Linked DNA regions of Homo sapiens: all the other regions are linked to region 3. Evidence: promoter capture Hi-C in 16 types of primary human blood cells and fetal thymus (Javierre and others, 2016). All regions are on one chromosome and are shown on one strand. The core of a region is centred on a gene start or on the middle of the fragment in contact, and the rest is flanking DNA. Distances in the headings are between cores, read along the strand shown. Region 1 overlaps SLC9B2 (solute carrier family 9 member B2). Region 2 overlaps SLC9B2 (solute carrier family 9 member B2). Region 3 holds the start of NFKB1 (nuclear factor kappa B subunit 1). Region 4 overlaps CENPE (centromere protein E).

Evidence for each region. The method cuts DNA at HindIII sites, captures the fragments that hold promoters and counts their contacts. A CHiCAGO score of 5 or more calls a contact.
Region 1: a contact is called between a fragment that was not itself captured here and the fragment with the promoter of NFKB1 in region 3, in 13 of 17 cell types (total B cells, erythroblasts, naive B cells and 10 more). The highest score is 11.5, in total B cells.
Region 2: a contact is called between a fragment that was not itself captured here and the fragment with the promoter of NFKB1 in region 3, in 8 of 17 cell types (total B cells, erythroblasts, naive B cells and 5 more). The highest score is 10.6, in total B cells.
Region 4: a fragment that was not itself captured here is called in contact with the fragment with the promoter of NFKB1 in region 3 in 1 of 17 cell types (neutrophils); the score reaches 5.4 in neutrophils.

Annotation. Positions count from the first base shown.
Region 1 is chr4:103,026,051-103,033,106 of GRCh38, forward strand. It overlaps SLC9B2 (solute carrier family 9 member B2), which reads right to left. Exons shown (of 12, transcript NM_178833.7): 10 at 5,650-5,758; 11 at 2,697-2,833; 12 at 1-541. The coding sequence ends at 320. Among named protein-coding and RNA genes, the nearest start is that of SLC9B1, 9.9 kb to the left of the region's middle. The HindIII fragment of the contact is 2,118 bases long and covers 3,739-5,856 here.
Region 2 is chr4:103,059,008-103,065,793 of GRCh38, forward strand. All of the region lies in intron 3 of SLC9B2 (solute carrier family 9 member B2), which reads right to left. Among named protein-coding and RNA genes, the nearest start is that of SLC9B2, 14 kb to the right of the region's middle. The HindIII fragment of the contact is 2,943 bases long and covers 1,767-4,709 here.
Region 3 is chr4:102,498,715-102,505,004 of GRCh38, forward strand. NFKB1 (nuclear factor kappa B subunit 1) reads left to right here and starts at 2,645. Exons shown (of 24, transcript NM_003998.4): 1 at 2,645-3,074. NFKB1-AS1 (NFKB1 antisense RNA 1) reads right to left here and starts at 3,772. Exons shown (of 5, transcript NR_136202.1): 1 at 3,725-3,772. RefSeq lists silencers at 2,325-2,584, 2,595-3,164 and an enhancer at 3,275-3,324. The HindIII fragment of the contact is 5,238 bases long and covers 1,704-6,290 here.
Region 4 is chr4:103,106,566-103,113,617 of GRCh38, forward strand. It overlaps CENPE (centromere protein E), which reads right to left. Exons shown (of 49, transcript NM_001813.3): 47 at 4,263-4,446; 48 at 2,238-2,524. Among named protein-coding and RNA genes, the nearest start is that of BDH2, 10 kb to the left of the region's middle. The HindIII fragment of the contact is 6,795 bases long and covers 1,444-7,052 here.

The sequences.
Region 1 (7,056 bases), core at 3,548-6,047, 530 kb after region 3:
CTAGCTGAAGAGGATACTGAAGCTGGTCTTTCCCACATTAACTGTAAACTGTGGTAGTACATTAAAGTAGATATGTCCTTATGCAAATTAAGATGGATGATGAAGGGGTGTTTGAAAAAAAAGGCAGAGAGATTAAGGTTGGTGATATAGATCATTACCACCCACATGGAAAGAGCAAGGGCTAAAAATGCTGTTTAAAGAAACAGCTACACTTTTGGTTCTATTACATTTTAAGCTTAAACATTACATATTTCAATATGCATCTTGAAAAAAGTAGCAGCTTTCTAAACATTATGTTCAGCACTCTCTCTTTTCACCTCTAAACTTGCACAGAAGTCTCTCCTTGAACTTCTTCATCTTTATTTTGATGTTCAACTTTCTGCAGAAGCCTGGGGCCCAGTAAACCAATAAGCAGACTTCCAATTGGGGCTGTGATGAGGATGGACAAAAATGCCACTGTCAACACATCCATTCCATAGTCTTCTAATTGTTTCTCTCCATGTGACCTTGCTGTGTCCAAAGCCACAGATCCTATTGCAGCCTATAAAAGTTTAAGGGTAAAAATGGAATCATGATAAGATAAGCACATATAAAAAAAGTGAGTTTTTTATTGTTTGCAAAAGCAAATTGCTTGTTCTTTTGCTCAACTAAGAAAGTTGTAAGCATCAGGAGATATACCTAATGCTAAATGACGAGTTAATGGGTGCAGCACACCAACATGGCACATGTATACATATATAACAAACCTGCACGTTGTGCACATGTACCCTAAAACTTAAAGTATAATAATAATAAAATAAAAAAAAAGAAAGTTGTTTTAGTATTCTTTCAAAGTGTATTGCAGGTTTTGTTTTGTTTTGTTTTTTTACTTTTTTAGAGACAGGGTCTCGCTGTGTTGCCCAGACTGGTCTTGAACTCCTGGCCTCAAGTGATCCTCCCTCCTTAGCCTCCCAAGTGCTGGGATTACAGGTGTAAGTCACTGTGCCCAGCCCAGCTGGTTCTGATGATCTAAAAACTCTGCCCTTGCATGGGAACATACTGATGACTCATTTGTACTTATCTGTGTAAGGTAGGGTTACATAAATATCAGTAAAATACATTTCAAAACACAAAGCAAATCCAGAATCACAATATTAATTAAATATAACATAAAGTTCTATGTACTAAATTTTTCCTGAATAAAGATGGAAATTACTGGTCATCTCCTTTTATCTTTAGGAATGTGGAACTAAAAAATAAGATGAAAAACATGCAGTGATACCTACTGAAAACTGTTAAATTTTAAATAAATATATATTACTTTAGAGCTTAAACTCATTGTCAAACGTCATGAAACATGAAAATAGTGGACACCTTGACAACTTGAAGTTGATCTTATTAGGTATTTGGTCAACTCCTTGCCACAGAATTTGGTGAAATGTTTTATTTGGAATGCATCTGTTGGAAAACATTATGAAAATTCTCAGTTTCTTTTAGAGGCAAAATGCAATATTATCAGTGCAGATGGGAAAAATGTATTAATTAATCTGGTTATCCCTTATTCCACAGAGAACAATGTAAGCCTCTAAGACAATGAAAAAGAAAAATGTGCATCAGAAACAATGGCAGAAACTACTAGTTGCTCACAAAAACATGAATGACCCCTTTCCCTTCTATAATAGAACTCCTGGAGTTTGGCTGGTCACATTGCTGTCCAGAGACCTTTTTATAGAACTCTTAGCCATTATGTTTTAGACATTTTTGAAAGTCTGATAGGGGTGAGGGGAATTCTGGAGTAATGCCCAAATGCAAAGAGCATAATTGAAATCTGGAATATAACTGCTGAGCATACACATCCCCCAAAGCCTCCTAAATGAAAAACACTTGATTTTAATTCCTTAATAACAGAAATTGGAATATTTAATTATAAAATAATCTGGGGCAAAACAGTTAAATGTTGTTTGATGTAATTAGTCTGAAAATATACAACCAAAGATACATCACATTTGCAACAAATCATAATCTATACAGTTCTAACTTAATTAGCAATCATAGATATTCTAACAAATGCATGGTCAACAAATTCAAGCACCTATCTATAATAGCTTTATTTATCACGTTTATTAGAATGCACAAATTTTCGGTTAAGTGATTGAGACATTTGCCAGGAAGTTCAGTGAGTTTTGAATAATTAATACCAACTAATAATCTAGGAAATCAATAAAGTGCTTTCTGAGTTGTTTTTCAATAAATCTTTTCTCCATTACATACAAAGACTCTGGTCAAGCTCAACTGATCATCAATCATATTAACATTAAAATATCTCCAAACATTAAGGGAACCATGTTATTTCTATTTTACTCTCTTCTTGGAAGCTATTAACATGAAAAGAGTTAAGAACTCTTTCCTTGGGTGACTTACAGAGTGCCGACTGATGAAAACTCTTCTCTCCTGTTACTACTGCTTTCTAGTAGAATAGGGATTTACTGGATTTTTACTTATACCCTGGTGATCTAAGGAAATTTAATGAGCTATCACATTTAAGGAATGAATATACCAAAAATACAGGTTTTAAAGAATAGATTAGGATAAACTCTTTTCATAAATCCACTTCAATTATTTATTTTCACTAAATTTAAACAAGCCCTCTTATTCAATATTTCAAGGTGTCATGCAGAAATAGCAGTTAAAATGCTAAGCCATCCTATCCATCATACCTGAACTGTGGCCTTTGGAAGCCATGCAAAAGAAATAAATATCTTTTCTTTTAAGTTAAAACCAGCAAAACACACCATCAGAAATGTAGTCAAAATTCGTATCAATACTGCAATGCCTACGGTGGCAACACAAAGGCCTGTAAGAAATATTCAATTTTTAGAAATAATAAAATACTAGGAGAGAAACTGCATCTCATGGTTACTAATTCAAAATAACCATCAACAGAAATAATTTTTAAAGCATTAAAAATTACAAATACAAAAATGTTTAGGAAGAATATATAAAAACAATCAATATTAAGGATCAATCAGGCTATTTGTTTAAAATAAGGTGTTTCTGTAGATTAAAACCAGAAATTAAGCATATTTGAATTCTTATGTAGAGATTTGAATGTTATATATGTCTTATGCTTTATAGCAAGAACCATGCTTGTTCATGTGTGTAAGAAGAATTTATTAAATGATATGATTAAATGATAAGTAATAAGCTTTAAACTAAGTACTGTGTACACATAAATGTACAATGTATAGACTTTGCCTCAAAGTCAGAGAAAGACACATAAACAACCAATTCATAGACTATACAGTAAGTGAGGTATAAACAAACTAAGGGCATAAAAGAGGGAAAAACAATATTTTAACCCAAAAAGTCAATAATTCTTTACAGGGTATAAGACCAGAAGTGATAGCTAAAATATTTATGAGCCAGTATGGAGGGAATTAGCCAATCAGAGCTGGCTGGGCACTGACCAATCAGAATAGACACTGGCAGTCTACCACTGTTTCACCATACTGATGTGTACTGGTCGTACTGGTCCCAATTATCCCTGGTTAACATACACAGCTACTCCATTTAGTCCTGTAGAATTCTTTGCTGATAAAGACAAGTTCATCATCATTTGCCAAACAAGGGATTGTGAGTAGTGCTGCTACATGCTACTGGACCTAAGAATGATACAGCTAAGGTGACTCCTGAGTATTAGGGTGATTTTTTAAAAAGTAACATTTGTTGAGTGTTTACTCTGTGCCAAATGCTGTACTAAGCTTTAAATGTATTATTTTACTTAGTCCTTACAACCCGTGGAGTAAGTATTATTTTATAGTTGAAAAAACCAGAAGCTCAGAAAGGATAAGTAGTTTTCTCAAATTCAAAGGGCGGGTAAAACATCAGACAGACATAGCGGGAGGATCTATTGTAAATCTGCCATATGGCTTTTTTATGGGAAAGTTTTGTGGTTCTTTGTTGAAAGGTATTTCTTCAAGGTTGGAAAGTATTCAAAAATATCTGTAGCCTGAAGTACAAGATAAAGAGTTGATATCATTCCCAGAAGGAAACATTGAAAGTTTGAGAAGAGGATGAGAAGGAAGTTTTAGTTGAGTTTGAACGTTAACAGGACATACAAGTGGTGCTGTCCAATCAACAATTGGATATATTGATTTAGAGATAAATAGTTTGGAATTATACAGTTTATAGTTGATGTCACTAGTATAGATAAGGTTAGAGAAGTTATATAGAGCCAGAGGCACAAAGTTAGAAAGCAATTTGATAAAGGGCAGCATTTAAGCTACATATGGTGTAAGGAAAGGCTCAAACAGCACTGGGAAATAGGAAGTTTAAGAACTTAATATAAAGGAGTGTTAGAGGGTCAAAAGCAGCAAATGCTGCTGACAGATCAAGTAAAGCAAAGACTGGATTTAGCAATATTACCTTGGTGAGAGGCTGGCAGGTTGTGTGAGAGGTTGGCAGGTTGTGTGATAGGCAGAAGCTGGGCTAAAATGTATAGAAGGAGGAAATGGGAACTGAAGTGGAAAGGGGAATGTAGTGACCTCTTTTGAAAAGTCCGAAAAGAAGACAAGAGAGGTAGCATGGTAGAGACGGGGGGAAGTGAAATAGAGGAATTTTATATATATATAATTTTAACATATTATTTTAATATACATTATTTTAATTGTAGTAAAATACACATAACATTTACCATCTTAACCATTTTTATGTGTATAGTTAGTATCATTAAGTATATTCACACTATTATGCAACCAATCTCCAGAATTTTTTCATCTCACAGAATTTAAACTCTATACCCATTAAACAACAATTTCCCTTTACTCCCAGCCCCTGGCAAGTACCATTTATGAGTCTGACTACTCTGGATACCTCATGTAAGTGGAATCATACAGGGTTAGTCTTTTTCTGACTGGCTTATTTCGCTTAGCATAATGTTCTCAAGGTTCATCCATGTTGCAGCATGTGTCAGAAGAGAAGCATTTTTTTTTAAGATAAGAGAGATTGGAGACTAAATTCTGAAGAGAAGAAAATTGCGACATGGATATTTAAGATGTATGAGAAAAGGAAAGAATCCATATGCAAGATTCAGAAGGAGTAGCGGGAGATGGGATTCCTAGTATGGATGGAAGAATACTGTGATGGAAGGAAAGAAGGAAATAATGAGTACATATATACAAATTAATTTTTAAGTGCAGTGTTTTGAATCAACAGAGTTTTAATATGATGGCTTTTGAATGTAGGAATAAATAAAATAATTAATGAACAACAAGGCATTTCTATCCCATGGGTACAAACTATAGAACTAACTAGTTGTCTTTAAAATTCTCGCTCTTGTTCAGGACAAGGCTAGATGAATATTCTTACCCTTGGAAAAAGAATTGTTAAGGCCTGAATTTTCTGGGTAGTGGTCAGCAGTGTCACTTTCATATACAAGGAACAATATTAAATGTGTAAAATATACCATCTTAGATGAACAAGCATTATTTTCTAACCAACTACTCTAAAAAACTTACATCATAATTAACTTTTTATATAATTGTGACAATAGTAACCACTGTACACATACCTGCTGGAGATATTTCAATGAATATAAAAAGTAGACTTTATTGGTGAGTAGGCTGACCAAAAAAAGTGAATTTTAACAAAAGCACATTTTGAAATTCTTACCTACAGTTTCTGGTCTGAGAGATGCAATAGATACCTCTGCTCCAATTAGTCCAAAAAGAAGGGGCTGAAAAATGTCCCAGGCAACTGCAATTATCTTTTCAACCTCTGCCTAAAATAACAATAAAACACACACAGATTTTTATTATGTGAAGTTACAAATGCAAAGAATTTTATTAATTTGAGGTTTGAATTATTTGGCCTGAGATAAGCTTTATTTCTGTGCCATCTATAACTAAAAGGTTAGCTAGAACAGAGCAAAAAAACTGCATGAAGATCTTTCTATCACAGTTAAGATACATGAGGTGTTTTAGCATACTAAATATTAGTTTGCACATGGATATTAATAAAAAGATTCTTATAAAGTAATCTTATGAGGACTCCTACTTCTGAATACATCGTGTGTATGTGCATGTGTGTATACATATTGTAATATATAGTAGTGTTTTGTAGTTTAAAATTTTATGTCGACTTTCCTTCAACAATATGATTTAGAGAGCTTGCAATATTGGTACATATATCTAGATATGCCCCTATTACTGCTGCATAGTGATCTACAGTATAGAAGTACCATAGTTTATTCAATCATTTCTTTATTGACAGATCTTTAAATTGTTTCCAATTTTATCTGTACAAAAAATACTGTTTAAGGTTATCTCAAATCACGCACAAAAATAAAATCCAGGTTTACTAAAGTGATTATCAGTGCCAATTATCACTTTATTGCCCATTATCTCCAGCTCCTCTTTCACTGTTGCTCCACAGAAAATGGAGCTGGGCCTTTAAAATATTTTTCCTTTGCCAGGTAGCACCATGTTAAACTTTGTCAGTAGAGTGTGCTAAAGAGATATTGCAAGCTGAAGGTGCTTTTCTTCCTGGTTTCTGTGGCTCTTCCTAGCAAGATCTTATAGCATGCACTGGTGGCCTTAGCTCTAGGTTCCTGCATCCCAGGTGGCTTCTCCAGTATCAGGGTCCTACAATTCATGCAACCAGCAGCACCTAGTGGCCATTACATTCCCTAGCATACCCCTGGGGCAGTTTCGTAGCAGATTCTCTTGAGCAAGATACTTCCCCATGCACCCAAGGGGATGGATCTCCTGCAAATTGGGAGGGTAGATTTTCAGCAAATTCTGCAAGCACAGCACCACAGCGACTTCTCTAGGCTCTAACAGAGTCTGGATCTCAGCCCTGCAGGCAGGAATGTGGAGGGTACAGGCTTAAGGGGATGATCTATTATAGCCATAGGTGCTATTCTCATATTCTTTAAGGATGTCTTCACATCTTACTAGCCAATACCTTGTTACTGGAATCCCTGGTGTGGTTAATAATCAACTTTTCCTATTCCAGTTACTATTTGATTTCTCTTTCCTCATAGGACCCTAATTGATACAAGAACTAACTTTGTAACAC
Region 2 (6,786 bases), core at 1,988-4,487, 560 kb after region 3:
AGTGTGCTACGATTGCACCACTGCACTCCAGCCTGTGTTACACAGCGATACCCTGCCAAAAAAAAAGTGAAATGTTTCCATTTGAAAACTTGTGTTTTACAAAACTGTGCACTAAAAATTGAAAAGTTTATGGGAAAAAGAGAGTTGGGGCAGACCACTCAAAACTGGTGGCCAAAGCACTAAGAAAAACCAAAACAATCCTAATAAGAGTCTTAGCACAGATGAATCTACACACTGACATTTGTGTCCCATACAGGCAGTCTGTTCTTTACAGACTTAAACCTGGCCTCCCATTTCCTACTTCAAGATGGAAATTCTTGAGGGTATTTTCTTTAAACAGAGAGCAGTTCCATCAAAATCTGATCCATATTTTAGCCCTCTGCCTCAATACAATAAATTTCAACAAAAGGAAAAGCGTTGGCAGCTTCTTTACCTCAGCTTATACTCTCAGCCGCTTCATCCACATGTGTTTTATTAGATAGCTTAATGTTGTAGAATGTTTGAGTCCTTGAAGCCCCTAAACCAGCTACTAATTGCATGAAAAGTCAGCACTTCCACAGAGATTTCGTCCTTTAAAAGGTCCTCATGCAGGGAAGGCTTTATCTTTAATTGTAAGAAAGCATATATTTGGTCTTTTCTTCCCCAGTTCACTTTGCCTTCACTTGCTATTGCTTGACGATACAAAATATTATGGGCCAGGAAAAATTATACACAAAACTGCAAATTCCATACACTCTAACAAAATTCTATTTACCATTGCATATGAGCTAATTCATGACATAGAAACACTCTGTATCACAGCATGTTGTATTTCTCAGGAGAATCTGTTACAGTAAATTCTTAGTTGTATCATCTGGAATTATCTTTATTCTCATTCTTAAAGGATAGTTTTTCTAGGTATACCTCAGTTTTATGTTAAATTCTAGGTTGAGTGTTATTGTTTCTCCATTCCTTGAAAATACTATTCCTTGGTTTTCTGGTTTTGAAGAGCCTGATTTCAGCTTTTTAAAGGAATTCTTTTTCCTTGTTTTCAACATCTTCTCTTTTTCTTTGGTTTTCCTTTCAGTATGATGTGTTTAGGTGTGACTTCCTTTTGTTTTGCTTAAGATTTATGTTTTTTAAAAAAAATCAGTTCTGGAAAATTCTTAGCCTTTATTTCTTCAAAGATTTCCTCTTCCCCATTCTCTTTTTCCATGTTGCTAACCCTAGTTTTCGTATCTTTCATCTTTGTGTGTACTGCATTCTAGATAATCTCTTCACATTTATTTGCCAGTTCACCATTTTTTTCACTTAATCTGCTGCCTAATTTGTCCAGTGAGTTTTTAATTTCAATTACTATCCTATATCTTTCATTTCTAGAAGTTCAAGTTGGTTCTTCTTCAAATCTATTCATTTTTAAAAGTTACTTGTTTTGTACTCATGTTTTCTAATTCTTAACTTCTTTATATATATAAATGTCTTATATTCTGTTTTCTGATAATGTACATTTTTGAAATCTGTTTTTTTGTTTCCTTTTGCATGTTTTTTTTGTTTGTTTTTTTTTTTTTTTTAGTTTTTTTGCAATAGTGAGCTCTCCCTTGGAACTTTGTCTAGTTTGTTTTTTGCAATAGTGAGCTCTCCCTTGGAACTTTGTCTAAAACTAAACTTTTTAGTTTGTCTTTTGCAACAGTGAGCTCTCCCTTGGAACTTTGTCTAACTTTGTTGAAGCCTTAGGTTGAATGAGTTTTCCCAGATGGGAATGAATTTACTTCTACCATGTACTTAAAAGCTTCCCATCCAAGACCATCTGAAAATGTTTTTTGAAAATAGATACATTTTCAAATTGAATTTTTTCTGTGAAATTGGAGACAAATCAGGATGAAGTTAAACATTTTTATTGGCGACTCCACACCTGCCCCAGCCAGCAACTACAGTTGAGACAGGTTTAGTCAGAGGCCCCATCTGCAGAACAGATTTACCTCAAATTTGGCATCACACTGGGTTTCAACTTTATATGGGTGAAGGAGAATGCTTTTTCCTGTTAGACTTCTCCCAACCTGGGCAGGCTCTAGCTTAGCCTCCTGTGCTCACAGCGCTCTCAAAATCAATCTCAAATTCCCTGAGGTGGATCTAGAACTAGAAATACCATTTGACCCAGCCATCCCATTACTGGTATATACCCAAAAGATTATAAAACATGCTGCTATAAAGACACATGCACACGTACGTTTATTGAGGCACTATTCACAATAGCAAAGACTTGGAACCAAGCCAAATGTCCAACAATGATAGACTGGATTAAGAAAATGTGGCACATACACACCATGGAATACTATGCAGTCATAAAAAATGATGAGTTCATGTCCTTTGTAGGGACGTGGATGAAGCTGGAAACCATCATTCTCAGCAAACTATTGCAAGGACAAAAAACCAAACACCGCATATTCTCACTCATAGGTGGGAATTGAACAATGAGAACACATGGACACAGGAAGGGGAATATCACACACCGGGGCCTGTTGTGGGGTGGGGGTAGGAGGGAGGGATAGCAATAGGAGATATACCTAATGTTAAATGACGAGTTAATGGGTGCTGCACACCAACATGGCACATGTATACATATGTATCAAACCTGGACGTCGTGCACATGTACCCTAAAACTTAAAGTATAATAATAATTAAAAAAAAAGTTCCCTGAGGTTTGGTAGAAACCTCCAGGGTGGGGCCACCTTGAGTGCTTACTGACCTCTGCTACTTACACTTTGGTTTTGGTGTCTGATGATTCCCTGTTTTCTTGACAGATCATTTCAAAAGACTTAAAACATTTTTTCAGATGATGTCCTTGGTTTGTGACAAGATTGTTCATTGAGTCTCATCTACCATACTGCTAGAGACTGAATTCAATGTCCCTTTTTCTAAACCCTCACAGAATTGTTCCAGATTTTCTAGGCTTATGATACTACTGCAGTGGAATACCTAAGGGACTTCCAGTATTTTCCAATTAGCTACAAGGGTTGAAATTTCTATGCGATATCAGAGGTAGAATGGGAAAGCAGGATTTGCCAGCTATTATACTAAATTATACTTTATCATAGCATAAACCCAAGCTAATATTAAATTCAGCAAGGTAGAATTAAGTGTTTTCTCTTTTCGGCTGGGCGCAGTGGCTCACGCCTGTAATCCCAGCGCTTTGGGAGACGCCGAGGCAGGCGGATCATGAGGTCAGAAGTTCGAGACCAGCCTGACCAACATGGTGAAACCCCGTCTCTACTAAATACAAAAATTAGCCGGGCATGGTGGCACGTGCCTGTAATCCCAGCTATTCAGGAGGCTGAGGAAGGAGAATTGCTTGAACCCAGGAGGTGGAGCTTGCAGTGAGCCGAGATCGAGCCATTGCACTCCAGCCTGGGCAACAGAGTGAGACTCCATCTCAAAAAAAAAAAAAGAGAGATTTTTCTACTTCAAGACTATTAAAAAAATCTCTCTTTCCCTGTGCTTTACTTGAAACACAGTTGTAAATACATAGCAAATGGTATGTCTATAAGGTTTCTCTAAATCATGTTTAAATCAGTTAACAATTTACTTCTCATTTACGATTATGGAAAACCACAAATTTTCACATGTAAGATTTACTTTTTTTATTTTTATTTTTTGAGACAGTTTCACTCTTGTCACCCAGGCTGCAGTGCAATGGCACGATCTCAACCTCCGCCTCCCAGGTTCAAGTGATTCTCCTGTCTCAGCCTCCTAAGTAGCTGCAATTACAGGCACCCACCACCATGCATGGCTAATTTTTTGTATTTTTAGTGGAGATGAGGTTTCACTATGTTAGCCAGGCTGGTCTTGAACTCCTGACCTCGTCATCCACCTGCCTTGGCCTCCTAAAGTGCTGGGATTACAGGTTTGAGCCACTGTGCCCAGCCTACTTTTTAAGAAGAATACTGATATATACTGCATAGGCACAGGAAAAAATATAGGACAAAAGTCGTCTTGTAAACCTCTGGAACAGAAGAACAGAAAAATAAGCGATGAGATGTTTATCTACCATGAACCTCATTTTTCAGGCTGCTTTATGAACGATTATACATTTTTAAAAAATGTGTCCCAAAATTACATTATTCATTTTTACTCTTTCCTTATGTCAGTCCATATCTGTTTCATTGTAAACGTTTTAACTATAAGTAGGCCATATTTTGAATAATAAAAGTTTAAAAAAATAATGAAAAGAACAGAAAAGGTATTCAATTATCTGTGATCTTATCAGCTAGTGTATATTTTTGGATTCTGGTTTTCTGTACATGTTCTAAGTTTGAGATTTTCTTCCATGCTTAGTTAAGTAAACTGACTTGGTTTCATTAAAAACACATCTAGAGCCTAAAGTATAGTATATTATGCTTATCTTTCATTGTCCCAGATGATAATGGTAAACATGTCTTTCAGAGCCCACAAAGTATAACTATGGAATTGAGTCTCATTTTTCAGTAAACATATGTGGGCATCCATATATTTACTTCAATGATGCTATTATTCTTGAACACAATTTTTGAAATTGCCTTTAAATTTTCTTTAAAAGGCAAATTTAGTAAGACATAAAATTATGAAACTATTAGAAAAAAAACATAAATAAAAAGCTCCATGACACTGGTCTGAGCAATAACTTTTTGGATATGACTCCAAAAATATAGGCAACAAAAGCAAGAACAGACAAACCAGATTACACCAAACTAAAAAGCTTTTGCACAGTAAACAATCCACGGAGTGAAGAGACAACCTACAGAATGGGAGAGAGCAGTTGCAAACTATGTACCTGGCAAGGAGTTAATGTCCAGAATATAAAAGGAACTCAAAAAACTCAATAGCAGGAAAACAAATAATCCAATTTAAAATGGGCAAAGACCTGAATTTTTCAAAAGAAGACATACAAATGGCCAAACAGGTATAGGAAAAAATGTTCAACATTTCACCTCATGCCTGTCAGGATGGCTATTATCAAAAAGACAAAAGATAACAAGGGGTTGGCAAGGATGTAGAGAAAAGGTAACTCTGTGCACTATTGGTGGGAATGTAAATTAATACCACTATTATGGAAAATGGTATGGAGAGTCCTCAAAAAAGTAAAAATGGTACTACCATATGATCCTGCAATCCCATTACTGGGTATGTATCCAAAGGAAATGAAATCGGTATGTTGAAGAGATTTCTGCACTCCCATGTTTATTGCAGTACTATTCACAATAGCCAAGATATGGAATCAACCCTAAGTGTCCAACAATGAATGACTGGATGAAGAAAATATGTGTATATACACAATGATATGCTTTTCAGCCATAAAAAAGAATGAAATCCTGTCATTTGCAACAACATGGATGAACCTGGAGGACATTATGCTAAGTGAAGTAAGCCAGGCACAGAGAGACAAATACTGCATGTTCTCACTCATATGTAGAATCTAAAACAGTTGTTCATATGGAAATAGTAAATAGAATGGTGATTACCAGGGACTGGGGAGGGGAGGAGCTTGGGGTTATGGGGAGAGAGTGGTCAACAGGTACAAAGTGATAATTAGATAGGAAGAGTAGTTTGTTCTGTACCACAGCAACGTGACTATAGTCAGGAATAAGGTATTGTATACCTCAAAACAGAAGATTTTCTATGTTCTCACCATGAAGAAACGATAAATGCTTCATGTGTTAGATATGCTAATTAGCTAGATTTGATCATTATATAATATATACATGTATTGAAACATCATATTGTACCCCACAAATATGTACAAATATGTGTCAAAAATAAAAATAAATAAATAATGCTGATGAATGGATGTTTATGTTTTTGAACAATTCTTTTTATATTTTGATGTTAAAATTATCTTTATCTTTTGAAAATATGATTTATAAAAGTGAAAAATTGTGGATAGATTCCAGGCATTTAAAAGTTGGCCGGTTAAAACTAGTTTTGCCAGATGCAGTGGTATACATCTGTAACAAGCTACTTGGGAAGCTGAGGTGGGAGGATCCCTTGAGCTTAGGAGTTCAAGACAAACCTGGGCAACATAACAAGATCCTGTCTCCAGGAAAAAAAAGGTTGGGTGGGGGAGGTGAAAGTGGCAGGAAGACCATGACCAATGCCTTGACATGTAATTTTCTCTAGACTTTAAATCTGAAGATCCATGAAAAAAAAAATGTACACACACGCACACACACACACACACACACACACACATATAACTCAAGTATATTGGGTGATATATATTGGGTTGTTGGTCACAGGATACAAAATTTCAGTTAGACAGGAGGAATAAGTTTAAGAGGTCTATTGAACAACATGAAGACTGTAGTTAATAAATATATTGTATTCTTGAAAAATACTAACAGTGAATGTATTGTGTTCTCACCACAAAAAATGACAGCTATGTGAGGTAATACATATGTTAATTAGCTAAAATTAGTCATTCCAGTATGTATACATACTTCAAAACATCATGTTGCACATGGTAAATACATACAATTTTATCTATCAATGTAAAAAATAAAATAAATTTTAAGTCTCAATAAAAGAATACTGTCTTCTTAAAAAAACCTAATTTGCCTTTATAGATAATTTTCAAATCTCTTCTTTTTTCTGCTTTATCACATATTCCCCCAGCATACACAGCACAGACACACATATGCACACAATTCATTTCTGAAGAAAAATAGGGCATAAATCAATCTGAACTTCCATATATTTATCAAATTGATGGCAGAATAACCTTTGGCTTCCTTCAAAGACCAAATCCATTCCTGAAAGACAAACATATACAAGCCT
Region 3 (6,290 bases), core at 1,395-3,894:
GCCATAGCAACACAAATGAACTAAGACAAGTGACAAACACAAAATAACTTGTCTTTTAGACAATATTGATGTCTGAAATTCCACATTGAGGCATTTTTTTCCTCTTCGTAGCCTGATAATGGCAAATACCTTCTGACACCTTAGGATGGATGAATTTGTAAGAGATATTCCTGGAAGCAGGTTTGTACAGTGTAGAGAAAATGTTGGGTAACAAAGCAGGAATGGAGGAGGGTTAATCAGCAAGCCAAAAAGCTTTTATAGTTTTGCCTGCTGTGCTGCATGGAATTACATCCCCCCAAAACATATGTTCAAGTCCTAACCACAGGTACCTGTGAACATGAGTTTATTTGGAACTAGGATCTTTGCAAATGTTATCAAGTTAAGATGAGGTAATACTGGATTGGGGTGGGCTCTAAATCCAATGACTGGTGTCTTCATAAAAGAAAGGTGAGGGAGAGTTGAATATAGCGACACAAAGGAAACACGGGGAAGGAGACCATGTGACAATGTAGGCACAGAATGGAGTGTTGCAGCCAAGCCAAGAATGGCAAGGATTGCTGGAGCTACCAGAAGCTAGGAGGAGGCAAAGGATTCTTCCCTAGAGCCTTCAGAGGGATCATGGCCTTAATGGCACCTTGAGTTCAGAATTTTAGGCTCCAGGACTGTGACAGAATAAATTCCCGTTGTAAGCTGTTCAGTCGGTGGTAAATTTTTACAGCAGCCCCAGGAAAATATGCCTGCTCAACACCCTACCCTGAATTTTAAGTTCATTTTATGGAATCATTTTGAGTTTGGAGTTTGATTTAATCCTTTTCAGTAATTAACGCTCTTCATTTTTTACTCCCAAATATGTCACACTGGCTCTACTCTTATAACAATTGTATTTATCTATCTTTTGGTAATGGGGCTGCCACCCCTTGCAGAATGAAAAGTAGAGTGTGTATGCTCACACCTCCCTCCCTCCCTCCCTCTCTCCCTCCCTCTCTCTTTCTTTCTTTCTCAGAGTATCGCTCTGTCTCGCCCAGGCTGGAGTGCAGTGGCGCAATCTTGGCTCACTGCAACCTCTGCCTCCAGGGTTCAAGCGATTCTCCTGCCTCAGCCTCTGGAGTAGCTGGGATTACAGGCGCCCGCCACCACGCCCGGCTAATTTTTTTGTATTGTTAGTAGAGATGGGGTTTCACCATATTGGTCAGGCTGGTCTCAAACTCCTGACCTCAGGGGATCCACCCGCCTTGGCCTCCCAAAGTGCTGGGATTACAGGTGTGAGCCACCGCACCCGGCTCACAGAATTTCTTAAAAAGTCATTGTGTTCAGTCTTTATGGATCCTCTAAATTCCAGCTGCTCAGCCTCCCGGAGCTAAATGAGATCACTTAAAGGTCGACTGTTGGGGCCTCCAAGGTCGCCTCGGAGACTCACCTCATAGGCAATCAAATGGATCGCTGGGTTTTTGTGTGTGTGGGTTTTTTTTGTTTATTTTTTTTTTCCAGAAAAACACTCCACCAAGAAGGTTTTTATAACCTACTGGAGGAGGAGGATGGAGAGTGGGCACGAAAGGACTAGGATGAACATGCCATAAGCAATCTAAATGCCACTGCAATATTGCCTGGTGAGGACCTGATTACTGATGTTTTAAAGCTAAGCTTTCAGTTGTCACTCCACCCAGTAGTGAAACAATGAGCTCTAAAATATATATTTCGGCTCAAGCTTTCTTATGTGGGGAGGTAATCCACCCGAAGGTATCCCCAGCCTGTACCTAATACAGTGCCCAGCACTAAAGCAGCTCAGATGCCAGTGAATGGTGGCCACTGGGAGGCCTGTCAGTGGGTGCCAGTAGCGGTCTCTTCAGAGAAAAAGAAAACTCCCCTCTGCCAGATCAGTATTTTATGAGCTGTGAACCAAAACCATTGCTACCACCATCACTATAATTCTATCCACAGTAATTATCATAAAGGCCTAACAATGCCTTGTAGATGAACATTCTGAGTAACTGCTCTATAACCAGGAGATTTAAGACCGCACCAAAAACCAGTAGAGGGTTATACTTTACTGGGCACAAGTCGTTTATGATAACGAAATTGTAGTTTAATCTGTGAAGAGATGTGAATGTAACTGAGACACGCTTAAATGGAATATACAGATGAGCTTTATTTTTATATCTGGCATGCTTGGATCCATGCCGACCCTCCAGCTGCTCGGGCCTGCCCTTAGGGGCTATGGACCGCATGACTCTATCAGCGGCACTGCCACCGCCGCCGCCTCCGTGCTGCCTGCGTTCCCCGACCATTGATTGGGCCCGGCAGGCGCTTCCTGGGGGCTTCCCTACCGGCTCCAGCCCTTGGGATTCGGGAGCGCCCTGCTAGGAAGCCAGAGCCCCGCAGGGGCCGCGGCGTCCAGGCCGCCTAACGCGCGCCCCTCGCCCGGCGCCCCGAAGCGGCCCCGAGGGGCGGGAGCCGAGGCGAGCGGCAAGGCCGGGCCGGGGGCGCACAGCGCCCCTAGAAGTGCGGGCTTCCCCCACCCCCGGCAGCGACCCTACCTCCCGCCCCCGCTGCGTGCGCGCGTGTGTCCGTCTGTCTGTATGCTCTCTCGACGTCAGTGGGAATTTCCAGCCAGGAAGTGAGAGAGTGAGCGAGACAGAAAGAGAGAGAAGTGCACCAGCGAGCCGGGGCAGGAAGAGGAGGTTTCGCCACCGGAGCGGCCCGGCGACGCGCTGACAGCTTCCCCTGCCCTTCCCGTCGGTCGGGCCGCCAGCCGCCGCAGCCCTCGGCCTGCACGCAGCCACCGGCCCCGCTCCCGGAGCCCAGCGCCGCCGAGGCCGCAGCCGCCCGGCCAGTAAGGCGGCGCCGCCGCCCGGCCACCGCGCGCCCTGCGCTTCCCTCCGCCCGCGCTGCGGCCATGGCGCGGCGCTGACTGGCCTGGCCCGGCCCCGCCGCGCTCCCGCTCGCCCCGACCCGCACTCGGGCCCGCCCGGGCTCCGGCCTGCCGCCGCCTCTTCCTTCTCCAGCCGGCAGGCCCGCGCCGCTTAGGAGGGAGAGCCCACCCGCGCCAGGAGGCCGAACGCGGACTCGCCACCCGGGTAAGCCAAACTCGGGCGAGTGGGGGCCCGGCAGGGGACGCGTGGCCCAAGTCCTGCCGCCCAGCCCTCCGCACCCCCTCCAGCCCCACTCGGACTTCCTCATTCCTGCGCTAACCGCTGGGCTAGACCGTGGGAGGAGGTTGACAGTAGCTGAGAGGCACATGGGATTAGCGACAGCGGGGAAAGACACATCCGGACCTCGCAGGGGCTAGTCGGCCGAAGGGCCGCGGCCGCCCGGCGGTCATTTCTCTTCACGTCCCTCCGCGGGGCGGGAACGCGAACCGGAGGGGAACTCTTACAAACTTTTAAAATCCCCAACCCCAGCCCCACCTGGGGGATGGTGAGAAGGTTGGAGTGCGCTGCGGCGCGGAGGAGAGAGGGAAGGTGGTTGGTGCAGTGCAGAACCAGATTTCACCTAAGGGCGTTCCATGAAATGAAAGCAGAAGTGCTTGTCAGTCCTCTTGGCTGGGAAAGCCCTCCCCAGCTCCCCAGAATTGAATAGGAGAGTCTATTCATCCCTCTCCTACTTCTAAAAGAAACCTGGCTCGCTCTCTGTCTCTCTCTCTCTCCCCCCTCCCCCCCTCCGTGCGCGCGCGCGCGCGCACACACACACACACACACACACACACACACACACACGATATAGTCACCTGCTATAGGACTTGATTCTGATCCTCCGGGGCCTGGCATTTGAGAGAGAAAATAAATTACCTACCTGGATACTTAGAGCACTTTTTAGACTTGATTATGTAAAACTCTTGGACAGTGCCACCATGCATTATGCATGACCGCTGAAACAAAAATAATGTAAAAACAAGGCCTATCCTAAATGCAAGTTTTTCTATGGTCCTTAAAAACAGACACCAGGGAATGTTTGCCCTGACTTGCTGGTTTATCCTGAAACTCAAATGGGACTTAATGATACAGGATTTAATTATCAAGATTGACATGTTCATGGACTTTGTTAAGTAGAGGTTTTCAGCATTACAGTTTATGAAATAACCATATTTAACTCAAAGATTTTTTTATAAAGCTCATAATCTGAAAAAATGCTTATGGTATTACTAAAACATTTAATAGCTCTGGCATCAAAATATTCTACATACTGGTGATCTTTTAGTAAATAGTAAAGGTTAGGGTCAAGATATTCAATAATTTTTTTCTAGCAGAATCCCACAACTGAATATTGTCAAGCAGTTTAAACTGCATTCGTGTTTGTTAAAACTTTAAAAGGGAAACTTAAAACTAAAGTATGTTGTTTTTCTGATTTTAATATTGTGCTTTCTAGAGATGAATCCTTTTACTGTTTGAGGCACTATAGGAATTATGTATTTAAATGTATGTATTTAAATTTGAAGCAATGTACTTTTTTGAGTTTATAAACTTGGGAAGACAGGAAATAAAAAGATTTGTTTCCTGTAGAATTTTACATTCATGATTTAATTGAATTGCTAAAATGGAAAGAACATGTACGATTAATGGAGACTTGGAATCTGAGATTATTCATCCATATTGATACACCTGCAATTCCTAAATGCCCTCCCCTGCTTGTTTAGATAAAATGTCTTCCTGGGCTGCAGCCTACTGGACAAACTTGAACACAAAGGAACACACGTTATATGTACATTTAATACTGGAACCGAAAAGCTGCTTGCAGTGAAAAGCAAACCACTTCTAAACTCTTTGAGACTTTTTAAAGAAGGTAGTATAATCCTTTTAGGGGTTGGTGGTGATGTGAAAATCTATTATCTTTTTGCTGAAATTTCATTCTTATGTTAGGCATTGGCACTCACTTGTGCTGAGTAAATGCCCGTGTTTTTCAAACCCAGATAGTAAATACTGGGGGTATACATACAAAAATAGTCCTTCCCCTTTGTAAGCATTGCTTTGATCTTTGCACTTCCTTTTTACTCTACCTCTTAAACAAGATCTGTGTTGATTGAGTTGATTAAAGCACAATTAATCTGAAATAGGCAGAATTTTAGATTTAGTGATTATATTCCTTACATTTCTGTTGTTACTGTTCCTGGAAACAAATTGAAGTAGTTTGAGAAACTAATATTTATGCAGGTTGTTTTAACTACACTTTTAGACTTGCAGATAATTGATTAAGTAAGTTACTACCTTGACTTTCAGGGATTGCTCATTGTGGTAGATACGAGGTCTAGATAGGGAATTGGCAGCTACATGAATGTTGGACTATCATTCCATCAGCAAGACCTTATTTTTACCTAATTTATGAGAGGTATTTCTCTGTTCAGAAGAGGTGAAAGTTCTGGCTTCTGGGGGGAAGTGGTTACTTCATAACCTTCAATTGGTTTGAACTTGGGAGAAGTAAGAAAAGTAGTCGATATTTTCAAACAGTAAAATAATTGTATCTGAGTTGCTGTATGGATTTTTGATGAAGTACTCAAAATGTCATCTTTTGCATCTTCGGGTCTTAGTAGATGTGCTATTCTGAGTATAGAATTGACTGCAGTAGGAAGTGTATCTGGAAATGCACAGTACTGTTGTATAACCAATAGAGTAAATTCTCAGATTATGCTCTTCTGGTCCACAGATTGATCAGAAATCACATTAACAGGAATGGATGTCTATGCAAAATTTCTCATTAATTTTCTTACTTTTAGTAGGAAGTTTGTTTTATTCGGTTGGTCTGTTGGTTTTCTGTTTACAAGGTGAATTGTCTACAGTAGTGGGATTGTTATATTAGAAGAGAAGGAGAAGGAAAAATAGAAGTTAGTGCTAGAGGATATGTTAAGATGTTCTGCTCCTACATCTACATTTGTGTCTAATCAGCATTAATTGATGACTACGTCTTGGTAAACAGTAGACCATACTGGAGCAATTTACTCTGCTTTTTGGGAATTAGTTCTCATTTGCACTCTTGCACCTCCCATAAATACTGAACTCACTTGTAGTGTTCTTAGAGGTCAGCAATAAACCATCAAGAGCATATGATCTCTCTTTGAATTTTGTCACTACTTTGGAGACAGACAGTTTGGAAGAACTGAAGGTACTCAGCCTCAGGGAGAAAGGTTTGAACGTTTTGGCATAGTCCTGCAAGTCAGTTTGGCTCCTTGACTGTGAATTTTTTTAATCAAAAAAGATTAATATTTGAAACCACATAATTTGGACAGTTAATAGTTCTGGTAACATAACCAAGCCTTTTATCTTTGTAGTATTTCATTAATTAGTATCCAGTGCCTCACTTTT
Region 4 (7,052 bases), core at 3,591-6,090, 610 kb after region 3:
GGAATTCTTCAATTTGAAATTCAAAGTGAATCAAACACGGGCTGATTGAGTTTTCTTTTGTCCTGTTTTTCAAAATAAATGGTGTGCTAAACAAATAGTATTTTAGAGAATATTTAATCATCTTTGGAAAGCTTTCTGTGAGCCTTTAAAAAGGACTTTAGCTGCATCTATTTGCTTATAAACAATATTTATTTTACAATTATTATATTTATAAAAGTAAATCTACCATAACTGGTCTTGGCAATTACCTTAGTTTAAGGTAATTTAGATTACCTTTTATAATTAAAAGTAAAAACTCACATTTATTTTTTTAAAGACTGGTATTAATTCAAGCTGGGACTATCTCATTTAATTCTGAATTGGTCAGTTTTTGATTTATGTATTCTTCTAGGCTACTCTTTTATTTATCTAAAAACAGTACCAGAGAGATCCACATATTAAAAAAGGACTCAAACATTTTTATTTGCAGTTTGATGAATTCACATTATGCATATGCCTCTGGCACTAGCAGACAAAATCAAAAGGTGATTACAGCTGGGTGTGGTAGCTAGCATGCACCTGTAGTCCTTGATGCTTAGGAGGATTGCTTGAGCCTAGGAGTTCAAGGCCAGTTTGGGCAACATAGTGAGAGAGTTCCATGCAAGTGTTAGCTAGCCAATAGAAGGTCCTTAAATGTTTGTTAAATACTATTTAATGAAGAGAATATTTCAAACATGTTTTTATTCCAAATGTTTCTGTGCCTACCTATCTCCCTAAGAACACTTTTAGACTGTCAACTTGATCTAATTTTGATGTAGTTGATGAGAATGGATAGATTTTTTCTTAATCACAAAGTAGAGGTTTATAAACTCTGGCAAATAGTGCTCAAGGTTTTAAATGATTTGGCAACTGCCTTTCTTACTGTACAATTTTGTTGCTTTAGATTTCTACAGTTGCATAACAGGGTACCTCTGGTAGGGTAGGCAGACACACTGTCACAAAGGGCTGTGCACAGTAGATGCTATGTGGTGAGAAAGACTACAAGAAATGCCGTGTTACCGTTTCTCCTGCAAGTCCCCCCACTTCTGTGGACAACCTCCATGCAGAGCTGGGGGTGATCCTTGATACCTCCCCACTCCTTTGTTCAATCAGGTGCCTGGTGTTGCTGATTTTACTCCAAAATCTCTCCCGTCGGTCTACTTCTCTCCTTCTCTACTCCAAGTCCACACTACCATCATGTCTTGTTTAGACAACAGTCTAACTCCTGCTCCTATTATTTGCTGGTCACCTTAGAGACGAGGTGATGTTTTCAAAATGTATAACTCATGTTCTCCTGCCATTGCTTAAGATCTTTCAAAGGCTTCCTCTACACAATAAATGAAACAATTCCTTTATATAATTTATAAAAGTCCAGCATTTCTGGCTCTTATTTCTCTCTTTGGCCTCACTGACTTCACCCACACAAGCTTGTACTCACTGTGCTCTGACCACACCATATTTCTTTCAACTCTTCCCCTGGTCATGTTCCCACCTACCCTAACGCTGTTGCTGTTCCATCTGCCTGAGATGTTTTTCCCTCTGCTCTTTATTAAGATAACTCATGTTAACCTTTTAGATCTGATCTGTTTCCTTCCTCAATACTCCTCAAATACTTATTATATTTCTCATAGTCTTTTGTACTTGCACTGCTATAATTTCACTTTTTTTTTTTTTTAATCACTTGATTACTGTCTGTATCTTCCATGAGAATTAAGCTCTATGAAGGCAGGGATCATGTCTGGTTTTGCTTATCAATGTGCCACCAGGATCTAATCCTTAACACATAGTAGGGGCTCAAAACAATTTTATTGACTGAATAAATGAATAAGTAAATGATTCATCTATTATCTGGCTTGGGTAAAGTAAATATAATGCTATTGGATATTTTGGTCCATTGAATTGATAAGACTTTTCAGTAAAAGTTGCTTTTTAGGGTAGTATCTTCATGTCCTTGAGAAAGTTGCTTGTCTCTCTTTGGACGAAACTAAAGGCTTAAAGGGTAGACTAAAGACTTCACTTGGGGTAAAAGTGAATTGCACTTCACTGTGTGGGGTGCCTTGGAGAAATCAACTTTCTTACAGAGTCAGCAAATGAAGCCTGTCATTGTAGCTTACTCAACTAAATCATCTCTTATCTAAACTTGCCCTTTGGGATCACATATTAATGATAAGTTCCAACTGTTACCCTCTGATTTCCAAGTAACCAGTATATTTACTTACCTGGACAAAGGCCTAAACTTGAGTTATCAAAATAGCGAACTGGATGAGGTGATGGTAAAGACTTTGATCGGCTATCAAAAAAACAAGATTTTGGTGATTCCTTTGGCACAGGATCTTGTAAATTCCGTTCCTTGCATTGAGAGGGTGTAATTTGTTTCTTTTTAGAAGCTGTTCCAGTCACTTTAGGAGACTTTGGAGAATTCTCACAAGTTACTTGTTTGTGAGCCTCTCTTTTAAGGGTTCTTTCCTTCCAAGTTTTGACCTCATTGGAAAGATGCTGATTATTGCTTAAATGTGGGGGAAGAAAAGAGAGACTGTAAGACTTCTTGATTCTTAAGATGTATTCACATTTATATTTAAAAATTAAAAATAAATTGTGATGAAATATATATAACATAAAATGTACATTTTATCACATTTACATTTTAATTTCAACCTCATGCTTCCTGTTTTGACTATTTTCAAAGTTCAGAAAACAAAATGGATCTATATAAATTGAATAATATAGTAAGTTTCCATGATCATGGAGTCTTGAAAAGAAAGCTCTAAGTACAACATTAGGTTTTCAAATGAATCAATGATATAATCCAGAGTGGCTTATCTATTGATGCTTTGCCACAATAATTTGACAAATTAGTCTCCTGGATAGATGAATCTTTGATGTACCTTTCTTACTGTAAAATAAATATTACACTGTGCTTTTCTAGTTACAATGCTGCTTCTTACAGGAGATGCCACCAGCATTTATCCAGTTCCTCCGGAGAGAAACCTGGGAAGCAATCCTAGAGACCTCACTCTCTTTTATTTTAAGTCATCCAAGTCTCTTGATACACTCTCATCCTATCTATCAAATTCACTTCCTTGTTTTTATCCCTATTGGGGCCAAGCTAGTCCATGCTAAAATTACTTTTTGTCTGAACTACCATAAACACATTCTAAAATTTGATCCCTCTATAATGCTCTAGCAGCCAAAGATGCTATATGATCTCATCAGGCCACTAGCTTAAAACCCTCCAGTGCAGGTAATCCTGCCATTACATTTAGGATACCACTCCATATTCTTCAAAATGAACTATAAGGGCCCATGTAATCTGAATCTAGTTACCTCTGGCACCTTGTCTTGCACTTTACTCTGTCTCATTCTCTACATTCTGGCCACACTGGATGTCTTTCAGTCCCACCAATTAGTTATTCTTCTTAACTCAAAGCCCGTGAACATGTTCCCCTGGCCTGGAAAACTTATCCTTCTTCCCTCATCTAGCCTAATTCCTACTCATTTTTCATATCTATTCTGATATAGGCATACCTTGGAGATATTGCAGGTTTGTTTCCAGATCACTGAAATAAAGTGAATCGCGGAAATCTTTTGGGTTCCCAGTGTGTATAGTAGAAAGATAAGTGCAATAAAACGAGGTATGCCTGTTTGTTGGCTTCCTGATCAACCAACCCTCCACCCCTAACACCTAGATAACGTTGGATCTCTCTCTTTCATAATATAACCCTTTTATAATGTCCTTTTTGTTTTTGTTTCTTTTTTAATAGCACTCATGGCAGAGTTAGTTATTTGTAAAATTATTTAACGCTTTTTTTTCTACTGTATCATAGTAGAGTGCTTGGGGAAAAGATTCTACTCTTCCACGTGGTAGAAGCCGAATAATTTGTTAGATCTGTTTATAAAGTAAAAAGCCTACAATAATGGACGTAAGGAGTTCCTCTCTAAGTAAAGCCTCACTGGCTTGGGTATATGGACTTGTGGTGTATTTCAGCTGCCCCCTCAAAGGTCTTTGTTTCTTTCCTATTTCTTGCCTTGGTTAAGAATTGGTCAGTTGATAGACAGCAAACATTGGAATAGTGCTACCATATTCTCATTTTTTAAAAAAGATACTTATTACCTGAGCTCTAAAAATTACTTTCCCCATAATGACTGAAGTGTTACCACCTGCAAAAAATACGTGCATATACCATGTCCCTACATATATGTAATAGCCGTAAGCATAATATCCGTATCATGTAAGCAGATCTTACCTTAACAATTCATTCTTTTGTTTTATTAGCTGTTCATTTTGCTGCTTTAACTTAGAAATTTCTTTTTCTAGCCTTATATGTTCACTTTTCAAAATAAGAGCTTTTGTGTTTTGTACAATGCCGCTGCCACCTCCACAAGTTAAGGGTTTATTTGAAGGCTGAGGATCAGTATGTTCTGATATCACTGTGGGAGGAAAATATACAAATAGGTGATAATTTTAATTGTCTCCAAAGTTCAAAATAAAGGAAATACTACCAAGTACAATAAGCCATTATAGAGACCCAAACAGCTCAAGTCTTATTTCCCTGGAAGTCACCCTTGACTTCTGCCTTCTACCTTACTCCCTCTGCTTATTTGACCAACCATTAATTCTATGCCTCTAGAATCCCCCTCAACCAATTCCACTAACATATCCTGATCCTGATCACCAAGCTCTTTCACCCTGACTGCAGCAATAGCAATCCTCTCCACTTACTGCTGTCCTTTATTGATCTATATTTTCTACATCAGTTTTCCCCTGAAGGGCTTGTTACAACACACTGCGTGTGTGGCGGGGAGGTGAGGTAGGGTGGGAGGGCCACCCCGTCATTCAGTGCATTATATGTATTCAATACATATTATTAACTAAATATATGTTACAATAATATTAAAGCACATATTAAATATTCTACACTATGTGTGTAAAGAGACTGTGTTTTGTAAATTGTAGGCAAAGTTGCACAAAATGTGAGATAGTTATGAAGTGGATTAATCCATTAGGTCACTGGGAATTCACAAAAGAGGGATAGTGTGTGTGTTGGGGGTGATTCTTGATGTCTATTTTATTTTGAATTCATCTACACTATGTACCTGAAAGTCATCTACAAATCAAGAATAAATATCCTCAACCTTCTGAAACAAAGAATCCTCACTTCTATTTTTACCCCTTTAAGTTTTCTCGGTAGGTGCTGTGGTTATCCTGTAACAGACACTAGGGAAGTTTAAGCTACAACAGGTACTAGGTAACACCTTAACACCTTTAGCACCATCTATTTTTGGAAACAAGTGGACTATAATACAAGCAAATATCATCTTATGTTTTGCTTAGTATTTGGAATTTTCAATGTGTTTTTACCCACAACTTTCGGTTTGATCTTTATGTACGTGTGTGTGCGTGTGCATGTATATAAATAAGTGTATATGTATATACACTTTTTTAAAAAAGACACTTATTACATGAGCTCTAAAAATTACTTTCCCCATGACTGAAGTGTTACTACCTGCAAAAAATATGTGCATATACCATGTCCATATATATGTGTGAGCATAACTATATATATGTGTGCACATGCATATATATGTGTATACACTTATATGTATCCTGTAACATATAATATACAGAATTCTATATATTCTGTAAATATATAAGTATTATATATAATATATATTGCATATTGAAAATTCCAAATACTAAGCAAAACATAAGATATTTGCTTGTACTATATACTTATAAGTGTATATATATATACACTTATATATAAGTATATATATGTAAGTATATACACATATATACATGTGCACGCACAAATATACACTTACATATATATGTATATACTTATATACTTATACATACATATACTTATATATACATATCTATACATATATACTTATATATACTAAGTATACTTATGTATACATGTATATATACACATATACATATACATATATACACTTATAAGTATATATGTGTATGTATGTATATATACTTATAAATGTATACATACTTATAAGTATATATAAGTCTGTATATATACTTGTAAGTATATATAAGTGGATATATACTTATAAGTATATATAAGTCTGCATATATACTTGTAAGTATATATAAGTGTATATATATACTTATAAGTATATAAGTGTATATATATACTTATAAGTATATAAGTGTATATATATACTTATAAGTATATAAGTGTATATATATACTTATAAGTATATAAGTGTATATATATACTTATAAGTATATAAGTGTATATATATACTTATAAGTATATAAGTGTACATATATACTTATAAGTATATAAGTGTACATATATACTTATAAGTATATAAGTGTACATATATACTTATAAGTATATAAGTGTATATATATACTTATAAGTATATAAGTGTATATATATACTTATAAGTATATAAGTGTATATATATACTTATAAGTATATAAGTGTATATATATACTTATAAGTATATAAGTGTATATATATACTTATAAGTATATAAGTGTATATATAAGTGTATATATATACTTATAAGTATATGTGTATATATACTTATAAGTATATAAGTGTATATATACTTATAAGTATATAAGTGTATATATACTTATAAGTATATAAGTGTATATATATACTTTTAAGTATATGTGTATATATACTTATAAGTATATATAAGTGTATACATATATATGTATATATTAGAAAATCCTTCACAGCAGTTCTGTTTATTCTCCTGTAAAAAAGTATGTATGAGTATATAAGTACATATACTCGTATATATACTTCTATAGACTTATAAGTATAATACTTCTAATTATATAAGTATTTACTATATATACTTATATATTACTTATATATATTACTTACATATTACTTATATATAATATATAACTTATATATTACTTATATATGTTATACTTATATATATTATAATATATATTATATATAATATATAACTTATATATAATATATAATATATAAGTAATATATATTTTATATTACTTATATATTACTCATGTAAGTAATAAAGAAGTA